4 separate regions of the Homo sapiens genome follow, and all the other regions are linked to region 2. Evidence: promoter capture Hi-C in 16 types of primary human blood cells and fetal thymus (Javierre and others, 2016). All regions are on one chromosome and are shown on one strand. Each heading gives the region's core, a stretch centred on a gene start or on the middle of the fragment in contact. The rest is flanking DNA. Distances are from core to core; before and after follow the strand shown.

What was found. The method cuts DNA at HindIII sites, captures the fragments that hold promoters and counts their contacts. A CHiCAGO score of 5 or more calls a contact.
Region 1: a contact is called between a fragment that was not itself captured here and the fragment with the promoter of OR6C76 in region 2, in 1 of 17 cell types (erythroblasts). The highest score is 5.1, in erythroblasts.
Region 3: a contact is called between a fragment that was not itself captured here and the fragment with the promoter of OR6C76 in region 2, in 1 of 17 cell types (neutrophils). The highest score is 5.4, in neutrophils.
Region 4: a fragment that was not itself captured here is called in contact with the fragment with the promoter of OR6C76 in region 2 in 1 of 17 cell types (neutrophils); the score reaches 5.1 in neutrophils.

The regions. Positions count from the first base shown.
Region 1 is chr12:55,611,668-55,614,965 of GRCh38, reverse strand. It overlaps the pseudogene OR6U2P. Among named protein-coding and RNA genes, the nearest start is that of OR10P1, 24 kb to the left of the region's middle. The HindIII fragment of the contact is 3,700 bases long and covers 1-3,298 here.
Region 2 is chr12:55,424,573-55,427,891 of GRCh38, reverse strand. OR6C76 (olfactory receptor family 6 subfamily C member 76) reads right to left here and starts at 1,638. Exons shown (of 1, transcript NM_001005183.1): 1 at 700-1,638. The coding sequence starts at 1,638. The coding sequence ends at 700. The HindIII fragment of the contact is 7,547 bases long and covers 1-3,319 here.
Region 3 is chr12:55,220,721-55,223,886 of GRCh38, reverse strand. It overlaps OR10A7 (olfactory receptor family 10 subfamily A member 7), which reads right to left and starts at 2,862. Exons shown (of 1, transcript NM_001005280.1): 1 at 1,912-2,862. The coding sequence starts at 2,862. The coding sequence ends at 1,912. The HindIII fragment of the contact is 1,137 bases long and covers 721-1,857 here.
Region 4 is chr12:55,270,859-55,274,175 of GRCh38, reverse strand. No RefSeq gene overlaps it. Among named protein-coding and RNA genes, the nearest start is that of OR6C6, 24 kb to the left of the region's middle. The HindIII fragment of the contact is 2,218 bases long and covers 855-3,072 here.

The DNA of each region.
Region 1 (3,298 bases), core at 398-2,897, 190 kb before region 2:
AAAGTGTTGAAGGTGCCACTTGATTTCTTCCTGACAGTTATAGTGAGAGGAGAGAGGAAAGTTGAAGTAAACACTGTTAAACAGGATGGATCCAGGACTTGATAGTTTTTGAAATTCTCTTCTAATGATAAATGATGCTAAAATTAAGAAATGGTTTCTTAATTTTAATTTCTTAATTCCTGACAGGGCACTGTCAGGAAAACTAGTCCAGAGGTGATATCAAGAGTGTGACTGTAATACTTTAAGACCTCAGAAATATCAAGGTGGTGCCTAAGTACCAGGCACAAAAGACCTTTTAAAGAAATTAAGAATGTGTTTCAGTGGTCCTTTCAATAAAATAATAGGGATACCAGGACCTTTAAAGATCTTTCAGGCCTTAGCTGTGGTTTTTATCTAATGAAGCAAGCATCAAGAAGATACACTGGAGATCCATAAAGTTCCCGAATGAGTTATATCCCCAGAAACTCTGTCATCTTGGATTGAAAAGAAGACAGTACAAAATAAGAAAGAGGCATTTGGGTCACTGTAATTCTACTGGGAGGAAGAAGGCTGAGAAAACTATTCAGCTACAATTGTGTGCTACTTTTCATGAAAAAGGAAAAAATGACTCAGAGGGCAGGACCAAGGGCCCAAGAGGAATAATGAATTACTCCCAAGTTTTGAATGAGTTAAGGAGTTTCCATCATTTTCAGCTGGATTTCATAATTTTTCTGGACCAGTAATTCCTTTTCTTTTCCTGTTTTTGAGTGGCAATAGTTATAGTTATTCTATGCCTACCCCATCATTGTATGTTGGGTGTGTGTGGGGATGTTAACTTGTCTTTTTTAGTTTCACAGGTCACAGATTGAGAAAAGTAGTTAGGGGCTGTATGTACCTATGGAACTACACCCAAGGAGCTTCATCTACACCTGGACCTGGTTTAGATGATAAGATTGTGGATTTTGATTGGAAACTATAACAAGATGAGACCTTTGATGACTTCGAGAAGGGTGGAATATATATTGCATGTGGGAGGGACATGAATCATTGGTGGACTGTGCCAGAGGGTAGATTGTAATAGGCTGCATGTAATGTTTCCCAAATCATCCCTGCCTTCTGATATTCATGTCTTTGTGTGCTCACCTCTTCTTGAATATGGGCTGGACTAGGTGACTTACTTCTAACAAATAGCATATGATAAAAATGATGTGATGTCACTTTTAACATTAGGTTATAAAACACTTTTGTTTTGGCCATTCTTTCGTTTGTTTGCTCTAAAGAAGGCCAGCTGCCATGTTATGAGCTTTCTTATAGAGTGCCCACATGGCAACAATCACTGAGGAACTAGAGCCTGCTAACAGCAACTGGAGTGAGCAGCTCAGAAGTTAATCCTTCCCTAGTTGAGTCTTTTTTTTTTTTTGAGATGGAGTCTCACTCTGTCACCCAGGCTGGAATGCAGTGGCATGATCTTGGCTCACTGCAACCTTCACCTTCCAGTTTCAAGCAATTCTCTTGCCTCAGCCTGCTGAGTAGATGGGACTACATGTGTATGCCACCATGACTGGCTAAGTTTTGTATTTTTAGTAGAGATGAGGTTTTCCCATGTTGGCCAGGCTGGTCTCAAACTCCTGATCTGAGGTGATCCACCCACCTCAGCCTCCCAAAGTGCTGGAATTATAGGCATGAACCACCATGCCCCACCCCCAGTAGAGTCTTTAGATGAGACAACAGCCCTATTGAGCTGCTCTGAGTTAAGCTGAACCCAAATTACTAACCCATAGAAACCAAGATAATCAATGCTTGCTGTTTTAAGCTGCTAAATTTTGGGATAATTTGCGTGCAGCAAAAGATGACTATTAAATCCAGATGTCTCACATCTGTAGGAAATGTGGTATTGCGTTTAGATCCAGAAGTTGTGGGTTTGAACCCTGGTCTCCTGTGTGATCTTTGGCAATACACTTAAACTGTTTGAGTATATCAACATCTTATGTAAAATGTAAATAATAATTTTTCCATCTGTTTCGCAGGGTTATTGTGAAGATTGAGTGAGGTTAGTGTTGAGAAAATGCTTTTGAAACTATGAAGTGTTCTACAAACATTATAGGTGTTAAAAATGAAACTGGCATGCTGACGAATGTCAGCTGTTACTGGAGTCTAGTTGAGGGCACCTGGGGACATAGGCTAGCTATTTCTCATTTCTTTGGCTGACAGAGTGATAAAAGAAGGTGCAAACCTAAGACTGAGGCTAGGTAATAAGACTCTTCATATGATATCAGGACATTTTCCTTATGGCCTGTGGGGAAACCTGCACCTTGCTGGGGGTGCAATGGGGGCCTAAGCCCCTGACTCCTGCCTCTTGGCCTGATGTCATGTGGACTTACTCTGGAGAAGGCACCCATTTTTTCCCCAGAAGATGACTTTTAGGGCCCTTATTTATTTTGGAACAAAGTCATTTTTCTGACTAGGTCTTTCATTACCTGCTTAACTTGTTGGTTCCTCAGAGTACAGATGAAGGGATTTAACAGTGGGGCAATAATTGTATTGATTAGAGACACTCCCTTGTTGACATCAACCCACTTTCCTGGAGAGGGCTTGACATACATAAAGAAGCAGCTGTCATAACACATGGTAACCATAATGACATGAGAGGAACAGGTAGAGAAAGCCTTCTTCCTCTCCTGGACAGCGGGGATTCTGACAATTGTCTGGATGATCTGGACATAGGACAGGGTGATGAGTACCAAGGTGCCAAACAGTGCTACTAAGGCCAGGGTAAAATCCACCATCTCCAGCACCTTTGGCCCACTGCAGACCACCTCCATTAGAGGCGTGTAGTCACAGAAGAAATGCTTGATGTGGGTATCACAGAATGGAAGCTGACTGGTCAGGATGACAGGCATGATGATGAAGGAGAAACCTAGTAGCCAGCAGGTGAGGATGAGCTGTGTGCAGACTCTACTACTTATGAGCATGGGGTAGTGGAGGGGCTTGCAGATGGCAATATACTGGTCATAGGCCATGGCTGTGAGGAGGAAGAACTCTGTGGCCCCCAGAAGATGTGGAAAAAGTCCTGGGTAATGCACCCAGCAAAGCTAACGGTCTTGGTCCCCATGGCAATGTTGAGCAGCATCTTGGGCACGATGACTGTCTGGAACCAAATTTCTAAGCAGGACAGATTCTGGAGAAATAAGTACATAGATGTCTGCAGGCGGGTGTCCAGCAAGGTCAGGCTGATGATGATCAGGTTCCCAGAGACAGTCACAAGGTAGGCAAGCAGCAGGAGCAGAAAAACAGCCACCTGAAGCTCTTTGGTATCCGT
Region 2 (3,319 bases), core at 389-2,888:
TATTCACTCTTCATATAGTCACATATATGAATATACACACATATATTATGTGTATTATAAATATATATTTTTTATATATTATATATAAATATATTTATAATATATAAAGATTATACATAAATATAATAGCTTTAGAATATATGTATATATGTGTGCATATTCATATATGTGAATGTATGAACATACAATGTGTACATGTGTGTATATTCATATATGCAAATATATGAATATATGAATATACACATGTATACATACACAAACATTGACACACACAGAAACACACATATATTTGACTACATACATGTGCATGTGTATTCATATATTCACCTATGTGAGTTAACATAGATGATACATTATCATATTCTGTTGAAATAAGTTTGGCAGTGATAAATATAATTACAATTATATTATTTTAAGTATATAGATTAATATAGGAAATGACTTTAGTTCCTTCTTTGAATTGTACCAAGGAATGTGCATCAGATCATTTAATAATGACTTTTCTCTATAAATTCATATAAGGACTTGTAAGAACATTAAATACATTAGTATTTAATTTAACATTAAATAAAATAGTAGAAACAGTTGTGTTCCTGAGAAGACATACAAATAAGAAGACAGAAAGGAACTAAAGCTGAAATCTTTATTGGTTCTTCGGTAAAAAATGTGTGTGTGTTTCATTTATAAATTGCATTCAAATCAGTGTTTTTTTTTTTTGTGGGAAATCTTTCTCAGAACATCCTTAAATGCTTGTTTCACCTGCTGGTTTCTTAGAGTGTAAATAAATGGATTCAGCATAGGAGCGACAGAGGTATTGAGTATAGCTACTCCTTTTGTCAAAGCAACTCCTTCCTTTGCTGATGTTTTCACATACATGAAGATGCAGCTTCCATAAGAGATAGAGACAACAATCACATGTGAGGAGCAGGTTGAAAAGGCTTTTTTTCTTTGCTGTGCTGAGGGGATTCTCAGAATAGTTCTGATGATGTAAGTATAGGAGAGAATTACTAATATCAAAGTGGATATAAGAGTAAACAGAGCTAAAATAAAGCTCATGAGCTCTAGAGTACTTGTGTCTGTGCAAGAGATTTGCAGCAAAGGAGCAGAGTCACAGGTAAAGTGGTCAATGACATTGGAGTCACAGAAATCCAGCTGTAAGCCCATGGCCAGTGGTGGAAAAATTACCAAGAAACCAGCCAGCCAAGAGCTGATTATAAGCTGATAACAGATCCTGTCACTCATGATGGTTGTATAATGCAGAGGCTTACATATAGCCACATAGCAATCATAGGACATAGAGGCCAGGAGGAAAAACTCCGTTGAGCCAAGGAAGATAAAGAAAAATAGCTGAGCTGCACAAGCATTATAAGATATGGATTTGTCCCCTGTTAGAATGCTGATCAGAAATCTAGGATTACAGACAGAAGTAAATGAAATTTCCAAGGAGAAATTCCTGAGGAAGAAATACATGGGGGTCTTCAGGTGGGAATCCAGCAGGGTAAGGGAGATGATAGTTAGATTTCCAGTAACACTCAGTACATACGTAAGAAATAGGAACGAGAAAATCACAACCTGCAGTTGCGGATTATCCGTCAGACCCAGAAGGATGAAATCTGTCACTGATGTTCTATTTTTCATTTCTGATGATTGATTCCTGTCAGAGATTACTGATAAAATCAACATCAAAAGGAACAAAACAATGAGTCCAAAGACAAGTATAAATATTTGCACATTTTTTTTTCAAATACTATTGAATTGTGACAAGAAGCACTTGGGACTTTTAAAATAGTGTATATATATACATTTATATTTCTTATTTTCCATAATTCTGCTTTTAAAGATATATCTTCTATATTTAATATCAGTCACTGCTACATGTTTACTCTGTCTCCATAGTTTACATTTATTTTGGGGAAATGTATTAATAGAACATAAACTTTTCTAATGCTTTACTATTTAGCTAAAATGTAGGGGGCATTATGCTTTGCTTACTGTATCTTTTATAGGAATAAAAATTTGGACTGATGATGTAAATCAGTGATCAACCCAATTTTTTGGTGAAAATTATAAATATCTTTTTTAGGATGTAGACACTACTACCTCTGTTAATTTATCTTTTACCCCTTTCTTTGTAAAACAAAATAATAATTCAGTGGGTAAGTCATTCTAATGTGTTTTGAACATTTAAACAATGGCTTTATATAGATAGTATCCACTTTTTTTTCAATCCACCACACATTCTATTTTCAGGTAATACAGGTGCCTCTGAAACTCCTATCTTTATTCTTGATTTTTTTTAAAGAGCCTTTTCATTAAAATCCAATTAATGTAGTATTTTTCAGTTGAGTGTTTTAAAATTTCTAGTAAAATGTTTTAAATGTAGTCAGGCACCCAAAACATGTTCAGAAAATATTTTAATGAAGTACACAACTACTTCATATATCTAAATCAGATATAAAATGCACAAATACTTCACATATGTTGTCTAGTAACTATCTTGGACACCCACATCTGTAATATGCACCAGCTCTTTCTAAGTGTAAATGTATAAATATTAAGAAAAATATGCTGTGTTCTACCTATTTAATTGCTAGAAATTACCATTTAAAAGATTTTTAAATCTCCATTAATTTCTGAACTATTAAATATGCATATACATAAGAGACAGAGAGGGAAATAAATATGATATGAGATTAATCAGTGCTACAGAATAGAATGGATAGAAGCTAAATCACAAAAAATAAATTTAAAATACTTACCTATTATGAAAATTTGGATGGTTAGAGTTAAATATTGAACAGAAAATAATGTGCTCAATTCTCTTAAATCAAAAGTCATGTAGTGAGTCAATTCTACATGAAGAAATAACTGTTTTTTCTCCCCTCCTACAAAGTTACAGATTTCATCATAAAGATCTTGATGTTTCATCTTAACACATCCAGTGAAATAGTCTCCTCATGTTTCCACCCAACACTGTCCAAAATCTGGAAGCCTGAAATATTCCACCAACCATCTTAACAATAAATCCTTAGTTAAAAGTTTTGCTGACATAAATGAAAAAAATTCTAGAATTATTTACGATAGGCTATTCTGATACTTCACAGAGGGCCATTTCTATTAATTTTCCCTAGGAAAAAAGTAAATAATACCTTTAATATATTTTCCTTTACATAATTTCAGAAATATGCTTTAAGGAAACAAATGCTTAATGACATTTGGGATAAACAATAATAGGGCATTAGTGAATCCATGTACAAGTTTGACTCCAGCAATCATATTTTAATTGGTTGATTTTGGGACCTGTGTCCCAGGAGAAGAC
Region 3 (3,166 bases), core at 40-2,539, 200 kb after region 2:
ACCAAGAACAATAAGATACTGAATGAAAGAATTGGAAATAGCCTGTGGGTTTTCTCACCACAAAAAGTTGATAAGTATGTGAAGTAATGCGTACGTTAAAATAGCTTGATTTAGCCATTACACAATATGTGTATGTGTATATACATACGCATATATATCTTAAATATTTTTTTGGTCTCATAATTGTTATATATAACATCATGTTGTACACTCTAAATATATACAAGTTTTAATTGTCAAGAATATACTTCTTTTTACTGTGCTAGTTTGTTGGACACATTAACATGCACTACTAAATTTATTTTATAACCTCACAATCTACTTGTGAGTCACATGCAGCTGGTAGAAAACCATCATAATGGAGTCTTATGAGATGGTTATTGAACTTAGTTACATTAATTCAAGAATATCTGAGTTAGGCTTAAAAATTAAGAGATTATTGAAGGAGAAAGATTTAAAGGAATAGTTTTTTTTTTTTACCTCAAACTCCCATTACATGCAATAAATATGTACTTCAGCAAATCAAAATTAAACTAAAACAGTCAATACAAGTTGGAAATTTGTGGTGGCTTTTAAATTTTTCTGAAAATTAACAAAGAAACATGGAGGTTTGTTACTGCTTGAAGAAGAAACTGTACAATTAACAGAAACCTTGGTTAAGGAAGATTTACGGGAACATATATTATTGTTCCAGTTGCATTCTCAAAGCCGATATAAGCTTATTCTACTGGAAATATAAATTTTGCATAATTAAATTTGACAATCTTGTCTTCTCCATTGTTTTGAAAGCCAAATTCCCATGTAGGTGGCAACTTTAACTTAATAAAAATGTGACTAGACATTTTTAAGAGGTTAATATATTGAATTTCAAATTCAAAAGGGTCTGACTCAAACTATTGTGGCCACATCTCAATAGCTTTTGCCTTACCAAGTTACTTACATTTTCTGATTGTAATTTATCTTTTATGAAAAATATAGATATAATAATTATCTCTTGAGTTGTTGCAAGGGCATGTGTCAAAGACAGTTCCTCAATAAACCATGTTTGCTACTACTATTACTCTTTTGCTTTACTCTGGTGTCAAGCAAATATTTCTTGTTTAAACTCTAAGAAGAGCTTACTATTAAATAATTAATGGATAATTTAGCCAATGACTAAAAAAGTCCAAAATCATGTCACCAAATATTAATACTAAGGTAATTTTATTAAATAACTTTATTTAAACATACAACCCATATAAAGAATTTGTATTATGGACTCTTGGCATCTGCAAAACTTTACCTTTTATAATTTTTGTAAGGTTAGATGCCATGATTCGTTGTTACACTGCAATAGCTGCAGAATATACAGTGGTTTGTGGTGGCTGTTCTTACTTATCTTTCATAACTTTCCTTACCCTTTTTCATCCTGCTCTGTGCCCCAGGAGACTCGCATTTATACATTGCATCAACATTCTTGTCCCCATGTTGTATTTGGTTTGGCTTAGAACAGAAGCCAGCAATAGATTTGAGAGAGTCAGATCAAAATAAGGTTGGGATGGCTGCCTTGCTGTACTAAAGAACAGAGATCCTATCAGGTGATTTTTTTTTAATAGTTGTAGCATTCTATTGGTTCCAGTTAACACTCCTTCTACTTGCCCCTTCAGGCCAAGAAGTGTAAAAGTTCTGTTGTATGATCTGTGTGGCTATTACCTAACCTTGTTCACAATTTCTAAATAGCCCTCTCATAAAGCGTTTTCTCACTTATCCCAATTCAGGAGTACCATCTCTTTCCTGCTAGGAACCTGAATGATACACAGAAATGCACCCACCAGTTAGTGATGAAATAAGAGCAACTCTTCCATTCCGTTTTAAGCTTTGGTTAGTAGGTTCTGCTGTCCCTACTTTGGAAGCATTCTTACACAATAGAAGTCAAAACACATCTAACTTCTGTAAGACTTTTTGAGTGATTGTCCTCTTGACAGCCCCTTTCACTTCATTGTTCCTCAGGCCGTAGATGATGGGGTTTAGCATAGGTGTGATGACAGTGTAGGACAATGACACTAGCTTCTTGCTCTCAGGGGACTGGTTTGATTTGGGCCGCAGGTAGGTCAGACTGGCTGTTCCGTAGAAGAGGGACACCACAATGAGGTGTGAGGAACAAGTAGAAAATGCCTTCTGGCGGCCAGTGGCAGAGGACATCCTCAGAATTGTTATGATAATGCGGGTGTAGGAAACCAAAATGAGACAAAAGGGAAACATGATAAACAGGAGTGTGGAGGCAAGTGCTTGCATTTCATACATGGTTGTATCCACTGTGACTAGTTTTAACACTGGGGGACCATCACAGAAAAAGTGGTCCACGGCATTTGGTCCACAGAAAGGAAGGGCCATCATCCAAGCTGTCTGTAGCATAGACACAGGAACACCGGACATCCAAGAGCCTATGGCCATCCACAAGCATAGGGACCTGTTCATTATGACTGAATAATGGAGAGGGTTACAGATGGCCACAAAGCGATCATAAGCCATCATGGAGAGAAGGAAACATTCAGAACTGCCAAAGAAGAAGAAGAAGTACATCTGGGTACCACAGCCCACAAAAGAGATAATTTTCCTTGGGGACACTAGATCTACAAGCATTTTTGGCACCATAACCAAGGTGAAACATACTTCAAGAAGTGACAGATTTTGAAGAAAGAAGTACATGGGTGTTTGAAGTGCGAGATCCACACTGGTAACTGTGACAATAAGAAAGTTGCCCAACAAAGTGACTGTATAAATGGCCAGGAAAAAAATAAAGAGGGAAACTTGCATCTCGGGGTTGTTTGTAAAACCAAGAAGAATAAATTCAGTGACTCTGGTGTGATTTTCACAGATCATATCTTAGATGAGTTTCTCTCTAAAAATCAAAGTATGTGCATCAAAGGGTATTAAATCAATATAGAGGTAATCTCAAAAATAATAATAACATCCATAAAACATCTTTATTCTCAGTTGTCTTACCATTCTGTTTCTCTGAAGCAGAAATGATGTTTATGATAAGATAAAATTAAGGAAAAATAAACATTCTGTATAAATCTTACTCATTGTTTACCACCTAGATGTAATTTTTTTCTCATGAGTAGTCATAGTCTGTGCTCATATTCTTCAACGTAGGCATGCTATTTTGTAGGATAAAGTGGAA
Region 4 (3,317 bases), core at 714-3,213, 150 kb after region 2:
ACTTAGCTATCATGACCCTGTATCATCATATGAGCCTGCTCTATGCAATGATCTCATAAGTCCTACAAAAAGACAAAGAGATGAGACAAAATATTTAAGGCAGACAAAGTAGCATAAGCAAAAGTAAAAAGAATGGCTCAATCATGATTTAGTTAGAAAAAATAGAGTTCTATTTAGTAATCGCTTATAAACCCCTAAACTAGTAAAAAGAAAAGTGGCCTTACCTCCTAGAGTTTTCTAATCTAGCACATTCAGGTAATAGTGAAGTAATAGATTATAAAATGTTTTTCATTTATACAAATCTTGCTAGTGGCAACATTAATACAAATGCACAGTGATACGCTACATAAACTAGAATTTTATCATATCAAACCATTGATTTGTTCCATTCAACAATCATACATACCATCTATCCATCCAACATGCACTGTGAAAGAACACACACAAAAAAATCACATTATAAAATCAAGATAACACGGACAAATAAATGCAATTATATTTACTTTTGTTAAATATTATAACATAAATATCAATAATTTTAAAACTTTCAAATCTAAGTAATTATTGTTTTTTATTTATAATATTTCACCATTATCTACAGGTTAAAAATGTAAAAGGAGGTAAAAAGACTAACTCCTTAATAGGTAGGTTAACTGCTTTCTTTAATAAGTTATATACACAGATTCAGGCAGCTCTTCTGTACTTCAATACTTAAACTAAAAATCCTGGTGAACAGGAAAAATTGATATTTCATTCTTTCCCTAAGCACTTTATTCTACCCCAAAATATGATCAGCTTAAATGATTGTCTTAGAAATATTATTTTAAAATAATTTATTGCATGTTAGGAAAGCTTATCAAATAACTTTTTATACAATTTACTTATATTAAATATTGCATACTTTCCTAAATATGACACACAGTGCAATATGGAAATTAATCATCTCTTTAAGCCATAAAAAACTTATGCCTTCTGTGCATTACAGGAAAATATGAAATACAAACAAATAATTCTCAGAATAACTGAGATCCAAGAACATCATCTCCTAGGGAATTACCATATTGGATCTTACAAAAATGGTCTCTATGGACATAAACACACACACACACGCACACACACACTTTTACTTCTTGTAACTATGCCCCCAGAGAATTCAATATACATTGATTGTCCACCACACATTCTTCTTTTGAAATCCCAGATACATAGTTAAGGAAGGATGTTTTAACTGAGTATGAAAAGTGAATGTGAGATGGAAAACATAGCCTCTTGAAGACCAATTGCCCTAGAGCTGAATGTGCTATATTATAAATACCTATTTCCTTTTTGTTTATTCACTTAACAATATATCCAATCAAACACTCCATATCAATTTATGGAGATATCCCAAAATATTTTATAGCTGCATAGTCCTTCTTTGTGAGAATGTACAAAGTTTCTTTTGTGATTCCATAAGAATTTTAGAATAGTTTTTCTACTTCCATGAAAAATACCTTTAGAATTTTGATAAAGACATCATTGAATCTATTTGTTGCTTTGAGTATTGTGGACATTTATACAATATGAATTCTTTCAATCCATGAGCAGGAGATATCTTTTTATTTATTTGTCTCTTCTTTAGCTTCTATTATCAACGTTTTATAGTATTCAGTGTACAGATCTTTCAAAAATCTACAACACACACAAAAACCGACTGAAAATGGATAAAGACCTAAATGAAAAATCTTAAATCTTAAATTTCTAGAAGAAAACATAGGAGAAAAGCACTTTTATATTGGCCTTGGCAATATTATTTTTAGATATGACACCAAAAGCACAGCCAACAAAAGCAAAACTAGACAAGAGGGATCTAATTAAACTAAACAACTTCTGTACCACAAAAGAAACAATTTACAAAATGAAAAGACAACCTACAGAATAGGAAAAATATTTGAAACTATATATTGATAAGGGGTTAATATAAAAAATCTATAAAGAAATGTAACTTGATAGTAAGAAAACAATTTAAAAACGAGCAAAAGACTTGAATAGACATTTCTAATAAGACATAAACATGACCAATATGTATATGAAAAGGTATTCAGCATCACTAATCATCAGGTAAATGTAAAACCAAACACCAATGATACATTACCTCACACCTGTTAAGATGTCTACTATCAAAAAGACAAGAGACAACAAGTGTCAGTGAAGGTTTGGAGAAAAGAGAACCCTTGTACATTGTTTGTGGGAATGTACATTGGTGCAAACGTTATAAAAACCTGTAGGGAGGATATTCAACAATTTAAAAGTAGAATTACCACATGATCCAGCATTCTCTTTTCTGGGTATATAACAAAAGGAGCTAAAATAAACACCTCATATAAATATCTACACTCTCATGTTCATTGCCACACTATTCATAATAGGTAAGATACGGAAGCAGCCTAAGTGAATATGGATGGATGAATGGATAAGGAAATTTGTTACACACACACACACACACACACACACACACACACACAGAGAAATAATACTGTCATTTTGTGATGACATGGAGAAGCCTAGAGGACATTATGCTAAGTGAAATTAGCCAGACACAGAAAGAAAAATACTGCATGATATTATTAATACTTACTATGGAATAGAACAGTGGTTACCAGGGATGGTGAGGGTAAGGAAACGGAGAAATGTAGGTCAAAGGGTACCAACTTGCAGTTGTGTAGAATGAATAAGTCTAGAGGTCTAATGGACAGCAGGACCATGGTTAATAATATTGTAATATATATTGAAAATTTGTGAAGACAGTAGATTTTAGGTGGTCTTACCACAAACAAGAGATAACTGTGAAAGGTGATGTATATTTTAATTTTCTTACCTTTAGTAATCACTTAACTATGTATATGTATAAAAACATTATGTTGTATATCTTTAATATATAAAATAAAAATAAATTTTTAAAAATACTTCTTATTTAATAATGCTACCTCGATTAATTTCACTTCTCTAATAGCAGTGGCTAATTATGGTTAATTAGCCATTGTTACAATTGTTAACTAAAACTTATAGGAAATTACTTTTTTAGATTAAGCTTTGCACTAGGCCCCAACAGACCACACTACTAAATCAGACTGTAGTCATTCATGCTAAAGATCCAAATCAACAAAGGGAAACTAAGTTGTTACTTGACTTTATGAAATCAGGAGAGAGAGTAACAGCCAGTTTTCCAAATAGCCCAGGTTTAATCTTCAATTGACATGATAATTAAGTTCCCTCTGTTTTAATCTTTACAACCAAAAGTAACATGAAGTAACCTTATGTTAGTCAGTCAGTAATCT